Regions from separate parts of the Homo sapiens genome. Here regions 2 and 3 are each linked to region 1. The links are contacts of gene promoters, found by promoter capture Hi-C in human tissues and cell types (Jung and others, 2019). All regions are on one chromosome and are shown on one strand. The core of a region is centred on a gene start or on the middle of the fragment in contact, and the rest is flanking DNA. Distances in the headings are between cores, read along the strand shown. Region 1 holds the start of SGCG (sarcoglycan gamma). Region 2 has its middle 19 kb from the start of MICU2. Region 3 has its middle 23 kb from the start of FGF9.

Region 1 (4,816 bases), core at 783-3,282:
AGAATGAGGGGGAAGCCAGAAAGGTCCCCATAGGTTCGTAGGACCATGGTTGGAGCACGTTTACAGTGGAGCACCCAAGCACCAAATTAGGCCTAAGGACTTTCAAAGTCACTTCTACCCATAGGCTTACTAGCTTTGTAATCTGGAACAAATTATTTTACACCTAAATGACTGTTAGACTAGATTTCTTTAAGGTCTCTTGGAGCTTTAAAGTATTATGATTCCTTTGAGAACATTTCAAAATGTGTGTGTGTGAGTTACAAACTTAAGCTGCCTACATTACAAACTGAAGGTCTTGCTTTAATAATTTCAACTAACTGATAAAATCAAAGGCTTCTTTATGTGATTCTTCTGCCCTACTAAACATAGGTGTGGATAGTATTAAATGAATCTGTAAATATGAGTGGGGATCAAACACATCACCTGACTAACATTTTTACAAAGCAGTTCCCAAAACACTGAAAAGTTCATTGCAACAAAACCAATTTACGATTGATGAAGAGGTATCTCAATTGTAACCTTTACATGCATGACATTTCAATCAGAATATTGAGTTAGCAGTTTCAGACTTTGACTTTTCAGACATACACTCATACAAAAATACATTTCATATCATTATTGTTTAATATATTATTTTTGTTTAAAATTGATAGTTGTCCTATAATTTTATGTCTAGCTGAATTCCCAAAGTAGAAGTACTAATGTGCAGAGAATTCATGAAAGGTTTTAAAATGTCTTACAAATGTAAGATTATTTGAAGCTGTATCAGCTTGTAATTTAAGGCCTGCAGCTGCTGGTATGATAGAAGTATCAAATTTCAAAAGAAATTATGGTAGAGTATAAATAAGCAGAATGAAGAGAAAAGTCTCCTGAGAAGAAAATAAAATGAGAATGAAGCATATGCATTGTTATTGCATTGCTCCTTTTTTTCTTCATTTTTTATTTCAGGTTCGAGGGGTACATGTGCAGGTTTGTTACACAGATAAATTGCATATCACCAGGATTTGATGTACAAATAATTTCATCGCCCAGGTAGTAAGCCCAGTACCCGATAGACAGTTTTCCGAACCCCACCTTTCTCCCTCCCTCCTTCCTCAAGCAGGCCCCAGTATCTGATTGTTCCCATCTCTGTGTGCATGTATACTAAGGCACTGCTTCTTATATTCAAGGTTTAGTACTAAAATGCAAATATGAAGTATATAATTTAGTAAGTTTTAATCCTGCTGCAAACCAGGTCACATAAAAATAATGCAAAATAAAATATTAAAATTATTCAGAAGTTCGATATTTATTCTGTTGTCTTTACACCTTATAAAATGGAATGACCTAATTACTCTTAAATAAACATAAAGACAATTTAAGGTCACATTTGTTACATTCACATAATTTGTTAAACACAATAGAAATGTTAGTTTACTAGAAAAGAACTGTCATAATTTTAACATGCAGAGTTTGTTTACCTTCTATTATGGTGATCTTTGTTTAAGATTTTCTCCTCAGATGTTAAAAGTTTTTCACTTAAAGAGGCTTAGGGAAAGTGATTTTTAAAGAGTCACTGTTACATGGTAATATGCCGTTCATTTGGATGAGACTAGTATATAGGTAATAGTCACAAGTTCTAACTTGCATGTTAATTTGAAGAGATTTTTCGTAAAATTTTATCAACATTAGTTTCTAATGGAAACCAGTCTTAGAAGTTTTCTGCTGTTTGTTTGAGGTAAAGTTTTTTTAAGAAAGTTATAATTACATTAAACTATCATGCTTTAGGGTTTAAATGTTGGAAAGTTGGTTTTGTAAGAAGAAGAGTTTGGTTTCTTGTTTGTTTGTTTGTTTTGGTTTGTTTTTGGCATGCGAAGAGCTGTGTCCTGGAATTGGTGCCCAAAAAATTTTAAGTGTGGTATGAACTGTTTATGTCACTGAGTAAAATTAGACACGTCTGTTGCTAATGTGAGGGGATGAAACATGAGACAGGGCGAAACTCGTGAGAGCCCTTTCTCCAGGGACAGTTGCTGAAGCTTCATCCTTTGCTCTCATTCTGTAAGTCATAGAAAAGTTTGAAACATTCTGTCTGTGGTAGAGCTCGGGCCAGCTGTAGTTCATTCGCCAGTGTGCTTTTCTTAATATCTAAGGTAAGTGCTCAGTTTTAACTTAGATTTTATATCAGTACAAAGTACTACCTAAAAACCAAACGCTTAAGAGGTTTCTTAATATTCTTTCTTCTTTGGTGGCATAATAATAAATTTAAAATAATGTTGAATAAATTGGTGTATCACAACATAATGACATATCAAGTATCAATGAAATTCTCATTTCAACTAAGTTATTCTGACTACAAATATGCTACATATTTTTAGCATAATCCTATATTTCTAACATTTTTAATTTGTAGAATGCCAAAGGTAGCATTTCTGTATTATTGGGCATTGAATTGGATCCTGTAGTTAATTTAAACAAAGTATTATCTTTAAGATCACCTACTTCTAATTCTGCTCTTAAACTTTAGTGGTAGAATTACATTTGCTTTAGATTTTCTTGATAGTTTTGTTATAGACACTAAGAAATAAACTAAAATGAATGACAACAAAAGTCCAGTGGTTTTATAAGTTGGAAATAAACAAAACAAGAGCAAAATAGCAACCTGACTCCTTCACTATTTTTGGAGTGAAAAGGGAAGAATGTTTCTTTCCCTAAATCTGGAAAATATAAAATACTGCTCAAAATATGTATGAAAAAATAAACATAAGTGGGGTAAAAGTACACATGTGCTAATGCTTCAGCTTACTGAAGTTATGAGTTCTTTCTTTGCGTTTTCTAAATTAATACATGACAACTAGCAAACACAATTTTTTTAAAGGAAGGATTAGAAAAAAATAATACGGAAAAATATAACTCAGCTGACTGAAAGATTTGCCAGCAGACCAGTACAAAAACGAACTACGGAATACACCGTTTGTTTTTTGCTTATTTTCTTGCAAACATTTTGTAGGTACAAAAAGGCACCTTTGTGGAATTTAAAAAGTAATGCTACAAGTTGGGGTTCGTTTTATAGGTTCTAGGATTCATTTCAGATTGTCTTTCAAAGACAAATGAAAAGTAGCATTTCAATGTAGTTAGATATAGCATTCCAAAGACTAACAAATTCAGGTGTCCAAAAGATATCAGCTAAGCTTGCAGTTAAAATGCGGAAAATGAAATTGTTCCATATTGTCCTTTAAAAAATGTACTTGCTAGTCATTAAACTAAGTTGTTATTAAATTGCATTAAAAATTAAATGATAGTTGTAAATTATAGTGGGTTCCCAATGTGTTCAGTTTTGCATAACTTATAGGGCCTGAGGATCTCCCTCCACTCCCTAATCTGTGGCTCATCACAGCGCTTGTGTCTTCTCAGCTTGAGGCACCAGGGCTGTGGTTTCCCAGTGGGAGGGGAGAAACTACAGCGTCCTGAGGATGACTCTGCTACTCTCCTGCTCCTTCAGAACCCACCTTGACCTTCATGACACCTTCCTGTCTCTCCCTCCCTCCCTCCCCTTCTCTCAGCCTCTATAGCACCTGTCTGGCTTTATTCTTCTCCAGACCTACTGCAGGGCCAGATAGTTCTACGACGTTCTCATGAGGATTGCAGGATCCATCACTTGCTACTTTGGCCATTTTGGATTCCAGCTTCATTTTTAATTTTATATGTTATGCTGTAGATAGTTTTATGGGAACACTGGTACAGGAGTATTTAGTAATTTGTGAATGGTAAAGGTCTCAAGACTTTTCTCAGAACCTGTGAAAATCTCACTGCCTGCTCGACTTCAGTATGACTGGTGGGTAGGACCACTGAGGAATGGGGACAGGAGGGCTTGCTGTGCCCAAAGGCGTTTGTGCTTCATCCTAAGCACCAGTGAGACCTTTGAACCTCTAGAAAAGGAGAGCAGCCCAGTCACATGGGTGCTTTGGAAGGATCACTGCAGTTGACATGGAGAATGGATTAAGGGCAGTGGAGGCGGCAGTGAAGAGTACCTTAAAACCTAGCTTCACCTTCGTGACTTCTTTAACTCTGTTTTTAAAATGCTCAATTAATTTTACTTGAGAAACATCTCTGGAAAGTCTAACATCAATGAAGAGGCTATGATTAAAAGTTTAGGCTATGGAGCCAGACTGCCATTTGACCTTGTGTGAATTACTTAATTTCTATGTCTCAGTTTCTTCATTTGTAAGGTGAGAGGAGTTGCATTGTAGCAGCTACCATTTTAACAAGTATCAAATTTAGTCTATATAAGGCAATTAGAAAGTTTCTGACTTCTTAGTAAATAGTAGCTTCCATCGGCATCACCCATCAATGCACCCTCTTATCCTGACCCCACACTGCGGGGAAGTCAGGAAGACCTCGGGAAAATGACGGTAACTGGTCAGGAACTTGAACCTGCTTCTCACAGTCCCCTAAGAAGGCGTACCAGAAAGGAGCCCTAAGCAGGCAGGAGACTCCAGGCTGAGGCTATTTCTGCTGTTTCTGTGGAGAACGTTCTCTGCACGCAGCCATGGCTGCTCAGAAGGGGTGTGTGCATTCCAGGATACAAATAGCCCTCCTGGCATTCCTGGTGGCTGCCTGCCTATCCCTAGTGGTAAGGTCTATGAAGGAAAGAAAGGCAAGTGACTGTTTACCTTTCCCATGAAAATCTTCCTTTTCTTCAACATTTTTGATTGTAACGAAAACTTTATATAAAATATTCTCCCTTTATTTTTATTTTTTTTTGAGACAGAGTCTCGCTCTATCGCCCAGGCTGGAGTGCAGTGGCATGATCTCGGCTCACTGCAAACTCACCTCCCGG
Region 2 (4,816 bases), core at 724-3,223, 1.6 Mb before region 1:
CATGGGAACAACAGACACTGTGGACCACCAGACACGGGAGGGAGGGAGGTGTGGGTTGAAAAACTACCCATCGGGTACTATCATCACTACCTGAGTGCAAAATACACATGTAATAAACCTGCACATGGACCCCCTGTATCTAACATATAAGTTGAAATTAAAAAAAAAGATTCAAAAAAAGATTAGAAAGAAAAAAAATGCCAATCGCTGGATTAAGGTCCATTTTAATCCAGTAGGACCTCATCTTGGCTTGACTGCATCAGCAAAGTGGATTACATCTGACTCATTTCCAAATAAGGTCACATTCACTGGTACCAGGGGTTATAACTTGAGCATATGTTTTTGGAGGACACAGTTCGACCCACAACAGTTCCCTCAAATATATATACAGACTATACAGGCAGGTCATTGATTCCAGCCCTGATACAAGTAGTAAGGAAGCAGGACAGCAGAGAGAGGAGAGCGTGAGGTTTAACAAGAGAAGAAATAACATTACTCTGACCCTTGGTCCTTCCAGCTCCTCCAGGCAGCAGATGGGATGAGCCGTGAGGAAGATCAAAGACAGTCTGGGACCAGAGGGCAGAGTGATGAGCACACTAGACACCAAACGGGTCATAAATCACTTCTGGTCCTTTTAAGTTGCTTTTTGTGCCTTTTATTTTCTCCCTCCACTCTTTCCTACCACTTGCTTCTTCTCTCTCTGCCCTCACCATTCCATTTTCCATTCAGTCTCTCTGTCATCCTCATTCTTTGAGCCCCAAAGCAAGGAAGAAATACATTATGTGATCAAAGAACTTCCAAAGGACATTTACGTTTCCCCATTTGATTATCAGTACTTTATGAAATTTCATCATTTATGAACAAAACAACTCGAATGCAGCATTTTGAGGACAAACTGTAGAGCAGGTTTGTAAAGTTCTTTGTGCCTGATGTCAACCAAGGTTTGCTTGAGCCAGTTTTCTTAAATCTTCCATCCTGTCTTACTCATTTCCAGAGTACATGGTAGCAATGTACAGTATCTTATCAACCAATATATAGACATAGAAACAAATTAAGAAAACAGGAAGGACATCTCTTAACATTTCTTAAAGGGTTGGCTCATGTTACTGGTTAATCTACCCTGATTTCAATGAGACTTTTGGTCATTCCTATTACAAATATTTATAATATGCCCACTATGAACAAAGGATTTTGCTACCATGAGTGGATGATACAGAAATAAATAAGACAGTCCCTGCTTTCAAGAAGTTTGCAGTTTTGGGAGAAATATATAAACAACTCTTACATAAGGTAAAATGGGATAAATGCTGCAAGAAAGGTTCAAAGTGTTTGGGATATATTTGAGAAAGAAGGGATTAATTATGACTGGGAGTGTTCTTAGAAGAGGTAATAGAGTTTGTGTTGGGAATTCAAAAGTGGCAAGTACACCGATAGTAGACATTCCTCAAAAGACGTTACCACTAGAGCTACTTGAGCAAAGCTGCTGAGGCAAGACAGAATAGACCATATTTTGGGAGAACACCAACAACTGTTGAGTGTGGTTCAAGAGAAGTGTCATGCAAGATAAGGCTGAAAAGACGTTTAAAGATCCAAGAGTGAAGCACTGTGCTTTGAATTCTATGTTTAGAGGCGAATCACCAAAGTTTCTAATTGGAGGATTAGGAGATCAGTTAGAAGGCTGTTGAAATGGTCTAAGAGTCCAAAAATGAAGAGTTGACTGAGGACAGGAGCAGAGGATGTGGTGAATGGGGAGCCCGGAGGCATAAGGTAGAGGTAGAATCAAAAGGTCCTGGCAGGTTATGGGATGTTGAAGATGAGGGAAACCACGGAGCAATTAGAATCTTGGCATTGCTTTGCCATGAACGAGGAAGGGCCCAGGGAGGAGCAGCTTTATGAAGGGAGAAGAGATGGGGTGAAGAAGGGAGAGTGACAACTTCATTTTGGTCTAGTGGTATCTGAAGCTTATTATTATTATTTTTTGTAATCAGAGTCTTGCTCTGTGGCCCAGGCTGGAGTGCAGTGGTGTGATCTTGGCTCACTGCCACCTCTGCCTCCCGGGTTTAAGTGATTCTCCTGCCTCAGCCACCTGAGTAGCTAGTACTACAGGTGCCCGCCACCATACCCGGCTAATTTTTGTATTTGTAGTAGAGATGGGGTTTCACCATGTTGGCCCAGGCTGGTCTCAAACTCCTGACCACAGGTGATCTGCCTGCCTCGGCCTCCCAGAGTGTTGAGATTACAGGCATGAGCAATGGCACCTGGCCTCTGAAGTATTTTTGTAATAATGATGTAGGGAAGTCCAGCAGGTAGTGAAAATGCATTTTTGGAATTTTGAAGAGCAGTCAGGGTTAGGTTCTTAGGCTCAGAGATGAAGAGTATTAACTAAAGAATGAAGTTTACAAAGAAAGGGGATGACGAGCTCTTTTTATACTATAGAAATACTATATTATTGGCTGGGTGCGGTGGCTCACGCCTGTAATCCCTGCACTTTGGAAGGCTGAGGTGGGTGGATCACGAGGTCAGGAGATCGAGACCATCCTGGCTAACATGCTGAAACCCCGTCTCTACTAAAAAATACAAAATATTAGCCAGGCGTGGTGGTGGACGCCTGTAGTCCCAGCTACTCGGGAGGCTGAGGCAGGAGAATGGCTTGAACTCAGGAGGCAGAGCTTGCAGTGAGCCGAGATCGTGCCACTGCACTCCAGCCTGGGCGACAGAGCAAGACTCTGTCTCAAAAAAAAAATAAATAAATAAATAAATAAATAAAAATAAATAAATGCTATATTATCCACATTTGAAGTAAATTTATTGTATTGGGAGACACAGAAACAAAAGCATTAGCATTTACTAAGCATAACTGCCTAAAGAGGAAAAGGTATACAAAAAGGAAAAACATTAATAGGGTAAGAAAAGACTTAAGGATTCTAGGGAAAGAAGTATGTATCACCCTCAGGGCCTAATTGAAAGAAGTATTTGATTGAAGGATGTCTCATTATTGGGGGATTTAAAATTTTCTAATGGGTCATTGAAATGTTGTATAATATATTTACACAAAAATTTGGATAGGACAGATTACAGGGCTTTCCAGGCAGCCATTGAACTGGAAAAATACTTTTACCTGCTATAATTAAGTCCTTCTAATCAAGTAAAAGACATTTCTAGTTATATGTAATTTGACTATGATTTCCCCAATGGTTGCCCAAAATGGAATGGGCTTCATTGGGAGGCCTTACATTTTCCACTCAGGAAATGTTCAAGAAAAATCTGATTGGCCATTTGTTGAGGATATTTCAAAAGGCACCCCTACTCTGAGTGGGAAGCTGGCCTCAGTGACACCCTGAATGTGAGAGGTTTCCATGTTGTTTCCAGGATTGGTTGCTCAGGACTGTGTCAGGCACTGTCTATAAGAAGCTGGTTACTGTTCTCTGACAATCCTGTTGTTAATTCTCATGGAACCCAAAGTGGAAAGGACCACAGAAAATTGTAAATAATTAGTGCCTTTCATCTTTCCTCATGATTCTTATTTTTCTAACCTTTTTTTAAAATTTGAGACGGAGTCTTGCTCCGTTGCCCAGCTGGAGTGTAGCGGCATGATCTCGGCTCACTGCAACCTCCACCTCCTGGGTTCAAGCCATTCTCCTGCCTCAGCCTCCCAAGTAGCTGGGACTACAGGCACACACCAGCATGCTCAGCTAATTTTTGTATTTTTAGTAGAGATGGGGATTTCACCATGTTGGCCAGGATGGTCTTGATCTCTTGACCTCGTGATCTGCCCGCCTTGGCCTCCCAAAGTGCTGGGATTACAGGCGTAAGCCACCGTGCCCCGCCAATTCTTATTTTCTAACCCTTTAACGTTTTCAGTTCCTGGGTGTGAAGAATAAGAATGAAAACATGTTTTAATGGATGTTTTACTTTGTTTAAATTTTGAAAGGGGCCATGAAGAGAAGATTTATTTTTAAACAATATCTTTGAAAGTGCATATCCCCCTTTGCATGTGTCTGCTTTGCCTTCAACTTTCCACCCTGCTGTGAGTAGCACTAGAGCTGAGCCGATGCCCCTTGAACTTCGCAGCCTGAAAAACCATGAGCTAAATAAACCTCTTTTCTTTATAAATTAAAAAAAAAATGTTGAGCCAACTTTTTGGGTTTAAATGAAAAAATTATCAAAGTATGTTATCATAGTTGACAACTTGATACCAATACAAAATGCCTTATATGTTTTTGAATTGACTACAACATTGAAAATTTTGTCTATACATACGTGATACACTTAATTACTTAGCTTTTTTTTTCTTTTTTTTTTTTTGAGACAGAGTCTCCCTCTGCAGCCTAGGCTGGAGTGCAGTGGCGCGATCTCAGCTCACTGCAAGCTCCGCCTCCCGGGTTCACGCCATTCTCCTGCCTCAGCCTCCTGAGTAGCTGGGACTACAGGCGCCCGCCACCATGCCTGGCTAATTTTATTTTGTACTTTTAGTAGAGACGGGGTTTCACCATGTTAGCCAGGATGGTCTCGATCTCCTGACCTCGTGATCTGCCTGCCTGGGCCTCCCAAAGTGCTGGGATTACAGGCCTGAGCCACCGCACTCAGCCTATTTGAATTTTAATTGCTTTTCTGTGCTTGGAATATGTGTTTATGCTCACTATTGTCATATAATTAGTCCAACTGAAAATGGAAAAACTGAAAATAGTCTTCATAAATCTTTTTTAAAACATTTTTTAAATAAATTTTTTTTTGTTTTAATAGAGATGAGGTCTTGCTGTGTTGCCCAGGCAGGTCTCAAACTCCTGGGCTCAAGTGATCCTGCTGCCTTGGCCTC
Region 3 (4,816 bases), core at 1,253-3,752, 1.5 Mb before region 1:
GAAGACTGAAAAACTGTTGACAATCCAGAAATCCACCAGTAGAAGTTCTTAAATCATGGTACATGGATACTATGGAGAATGAAGTGGCCATTAACAAAGAATGAGACAAGCCTGAAGGTTCTGACTGAGGAGGATAGCCAGGGTATAGTATTAATTTTTAAAAATCATGCTGAATATCAATATGTACACTTTGTTCCTATTAAAGGAACAACCCTATGCATATATGTCAGTACTTCAAAAAAGTTCTGGGAGGATCTGCACCAAGTACTAGTGAGTGCCTTTGAGAGGACGGGAGGGGTTGTTTAATTTTACTTCCCACACTTCTGAGTTGTTTGAGTGTTTTAAAACAAGCTTGCATTACTTTTGCAATACCCTATATATTTTGTGTGTGTGTGTGTATTATATATATACACACACACAAATATGTATATATTCCTAGTTAAGGAGGGTCCCTCAGCCTTATGAAAACTTCTGTTTTAGTAGCCAAAAATAAATATATAAATAAATATCTTAAGCATTTATTAAATATTTAATAAATATTTAGTAATATATATAATTTAATAAATACTTAAGTATTTATTATTTCTTTCTTTGCTTTTGGCTAGCTAAAGCAGAAGAGTTCTCATGAGGGAGTGGCACCCTCCTTTACTAGTGGAAAAATCCTATTTTCTCTGACTGAAAGCCCTCTTATTTGACTGGGCTTGGATTTCTTTTGGTGGAGAGTAAAGAGCAGTGTCCCCAAAGGGCCTCTCTGGGATTGTGTCCAGGATGGGGAGGCTTCAGTTCAGAAGGGCCACTCTCTGTTTAGCATGAAGGTCTGTAATCTCTGTGATTTTGTTGTCCCCTGAAGTTAGGGTCTTGGCCCTGGGCACCCTAACATGCAGTTGGCTCAGGTACTTACAACTTGGTGATGAGGCTGGCAGAGTGTGCCAGGGGGCCAGTTACAGCTGGTTTGCAGACTACTGATGACGTTCTCAAACTGGACTGACACCTGGGGAGCTTTACAAAACTTCATGGAGGTGGGGTCCCCCTGGACTAATTTACTCAGGATCTTTGAGGGTGAGGTCTGGCTCCCACATGATTCCAACACTCAGCCAAGTTTTTGAACCATTAGGTTAAGAAGGAAGCCAGGTGAGAGAATGCAAGTCAATCAGCAAAAATCACAACAGGTGAAACCAGTCAAAGGCTACACTGTATAGCAGAGTCTCTCCAAGTATGTGTTTCCTGATCACCATTCCGAATCACTTAGGGTATGCATTAAATATGCAGCTGTTTCACTCCCCCTACCTCCGACCCCGCCCAGAGATGCTGAATTGGAATCTCTATGAGGCTGATCTTAGGAACATGCATTTAAACAAGGATCCCATGTGATTTCCAGGTAAAGCTCTAGAACGCTCTGTCCCCAGAGAGTGGTTCAGTAGCAGCATCCTCATTTGGCAGCCAGTTAGTTATAGGAGGCTGTTGACTGTGAGAAAGAGGGTGTTTGATAAATTATTGAATTAAGCTTAAGAATAATTAGTTCATCAACTTTTTCAATAGAGGAAACTTATTTCAGTAACTGATTTTGCAAAATGAAAGAAAAATTTTCTGATTATGTTGGTTACTGCAGTTGTAATAATGCTGTGGCTTCAGAGATTGTCTTTATGTGGCACTTTTATCCAATGATCTTAATGTGTTTTATAGTCATTCTTCTTATAATGGTTCTGTTGGAGTTTGTACTGTCCTCACTTCTCAGTACAAAAGTAACAGATTCATAATTTTTTTTATTATGTATGTATTTATTTATTTTTTAGTATAAGTTCTAGGGTACGTGTGCACAATGTGCAGGTTTGTTACATATGTATACATGTGCCATGTTGGTGTGCTGCTGCGCCCAGTAACTCGTCATTTACATTTACACCAGTAGGAGAAGTTCTTATCCCTCCCCCCCTCCCCCCACCCCACAACAGGCCCTGGTGTGAACACCTGTGTCCAAGTGTTCTCATTGTTCAATTCCCACCTATGAGTGAGAATATGCGGTGTTTGGTTTTCTGTCCTTGGGATAGTTTGCTCAGAATGATGGTTTCTAGCTTCATCCATGTCCCTACAAAGGACATGAACTCATCCTTTTTTACAGCTGCATAGTATTCCTTGGTGTATATGTGCCACATTTTCTTCAGATTCATAATTAAAAGTCATATCCTGGCAATAAGAACCAGTGTTTCTTTGGAGTTTGTTGCAGTTCATGCATACCACATGGTACGGGAAGAATATTTTTGTCAATATCAGAGCTTTAAACTCCAATGGGGTGGCATTTAGACATATAAGTATTGTGAACAGATAGATGTATTCTAAGTTTATAACTGAATTCTGAAAGGTTGGTCCCAGACATAGATAAACTTAAAATCAATACTCTGTATTTTTACTTTTTGGTGATTATCTTCAGAAGTGACTTTATAAGACTTTCTCTGATCAAAACTTTATTTTACAGGTGGAGAAAAGTAATTCTGAAAACACTGCTTTTGAACTTGTAGGCCTTTAAAAAAATTGTAATTTGCATGTCCAGTGTTTTTTTTCTGCTTTTTGCCTTGGCACGTCTAAATAAAGCAAGCCAAAAGTTTCAGTGAATTCTCAATTAGCATTCTCTACTGAAGGGGAGGGAAATCTCAGCAGTAAGTCTGAGATGGGTCCCATGCAACTGTAATTTTATGTCACTCCACACATAGTCCTGAGGTACAGCCAGGAGTAAGACCTACTCCTGGAATTTCCTTTGGATGCTAGCAACAGTCTCTACAGAGTGTCGACTGGTCTCCCTATGCCATCTTGACTTTCAGAAAAAATAGCAATAGTGGAACATTATTTACCAACACAGGTCTGTACTTTCCCTATTCATTTTGTGGTCAGCATCAGATCCTGATTTCATATTTAAATGCTTATTACTTTAAAAGTGTCTGGAATCAAGTCTCCATCAATAATTTCAGATAAATTGAAAGCACTGCCTTACTGTTCCTTAAGTCACTCTTAGCGGGGATTTGGATGAGATGATCACAAAGTTTCCTTCTGGCCATATGATTCTATTTTATGGGTTTAGTAAGTGAGGACCTGAGCACTCTAACTGGGTTCAAATTTATAGGCTGGGATGAGTTATATCTCAAGGTACTATAAACATTCATGTCTATGATTGCAGAGACCTGGTCAATAGTATTTAAGAAACCTTTCCATGGCACTAAACAATCTTCTACCACACTAAAAAGCAATCATTTAGAATATATCTGTGTGGCCGAATTGCGGGCCTGATGGCCTTTGGATTGAGACATGGCCCCTTCCTGGTTCTACAGCAGCTTCTGGCCTTTGGCCTTGAAGCGGGAAATCTGCTCTGCAGATCTTGGACTTGCCAGTCTGCATAATCATGTGAACCGATTCTTTATAAGAAAATCTCTCTAGCTTATTATATATATCTTTATATATCTCCTGTTGATTCTGTTTCTGTGGAGAATTCTGACTAATATCATGGGCAATGAAAAATACATGCTTTTCAGTGTATTTTCAGCCAATTTTTCCTCTCAACAAACATATTGGATTGTTAGCAGAAAATATGTGCTGTGTTCATTATACATTGGACACATGGGGCATGAGGATGCTACTGTTACAATCTAAAAAAACTTCCTCTTATTCCTCTTTTGAGACAAAAGAGATTTTGAAATGAGCAAATGGTGTTTAATGTGTAAGTTCAATTCAAAAATGTCAAGTGAAAATTGAATAAATCTCCGGAGATATGTAACTTTAAAAATTAATAACATAGGCTGGGCGCAGTGGCTCACGCCTGTAATCCCAGCTCTTTGGGAGGCCGAAGCCAGTGGATCACGAGGTCAGGAGATCGAGGCCATCCTGGCTAACACGGTGAAACCCCGTCTCTATTAAAAATACAAAAAATTAGCCAGGCGTGGTGGTAGGTGCCTGTAGTCCCAGCTACTCAGGAGGCTGAGGCAGGAGAATGTCGTGAACCCGGGAGGCGGAGCTTGCAGTGAGCCGAGATCGCGCCACTGCACTCCAGCCTGGGCGACAGAACGGGACTCCATCTCAAAAAAAAAAAAAAAATTAATAACATAAACTATGTTTCCTGATAAACTAATTAACGGCAGGTTGGTAGACATGTTATACATGTGATTGTATTTAAAGTTTTAATGCTTTTACTATAGGCAGTAACAATAACTTTCACTAATTCAGGAAATTAGTATTTTCACCTGTTTTAAAAAAGGACACGATTTTTTCCTCTTACCCTTCCAAAATCACTCAAAACTTTGACACAAAAGGCACTTTCAGCAAAGCCAGCAAACTAAAGGTTAAGAAAATTTAACAAGTTTATTTTCTTTTTCTTTTATTGAGACAGAGTCTCGCTCTGTCACCCAGGCGGGAGTCCAGTGGCGCCATCTCGGCCCACTGCAAGCTCCGCCTCCCGGGTTCACGCCATTCTGCAGCTAGTCAGGATGGTCTCGATTTCCCGACCTCGTGATCTGCCCGCCTCAGCCTCCCAAAGTGCTGGGATCACAGGTGTGAGCCACTGCGCCTGGCCAACAAGTTTATTTTCTTTGCAGACCTGTTTTTTGAGGAACGAGACTGTAATTTGTGGCCGAACTCCTACAAGGATGGTGTAGACTAGGGTGTCTCAACCTCAGAACTAATGATGCAAAGTCAACTGATTGTAGATGTTGATCACATCTGCCGAGATAGAGATGAGTGTTCGTTTGACTTTAGTAAGGCAGACGATCCTAGATAATCTGGGTGAGCTTCATCAGATCAGTTGAAAGACCTTAAAATCAGAACCAAGGTTTCCCTG

The links. Contacts are between HindIII fragments. The study calls those that stand out against the background at their distance.
Region 2: a contact is called between a fragment that was not itself captured here and the fragment with the promoter of SGCG in region 1, in 1 of the 25 tissues and cell types used here (lymphoblastoid cells).
Region 3: a fragment that was not itself captured here is called in contact with the fragment with the promoter of SGCG in region 1 in 1 of the 25 tissues and cell types used here (mesenchymal stem cells).

Annotation. Positions count from the first base shown.
Region 1 is chr13:23,178,947-23,183,762 of GRCh38, forward strand. It overlaps SGCG (sarcoglycan gamma), which reads left to right and starts at 2,033. Exons shown (of 8, transcript NM_000231.3): 1 at 2,033-2,129. The HindIII fragment of the contact is 3,028 bases long and covers 1-2,591 here.
Region 2 is chr13:21,620,502-21,625,317 of GRCh38, forward strand. No RefSeq gene overlaps it. Among named protein-coding and RNA genes, the nearest start is that of MICU2, 19 kb to the left of the region's middle. The HindIII fragment of the contact is 7,337 bases long and covers 1-4,816 here.
Region 3 is chr13:21,645,579-21,650,394 of GRCh38, forward strand. No RefSeq gene overlaps it. Among named protein-coding and RNA genes, the nearest start is that of FGF9, 23 kb to the right of the region's middle. The HindIII fragment of the contact is 5,535 bases long and covers 1-4,816 here.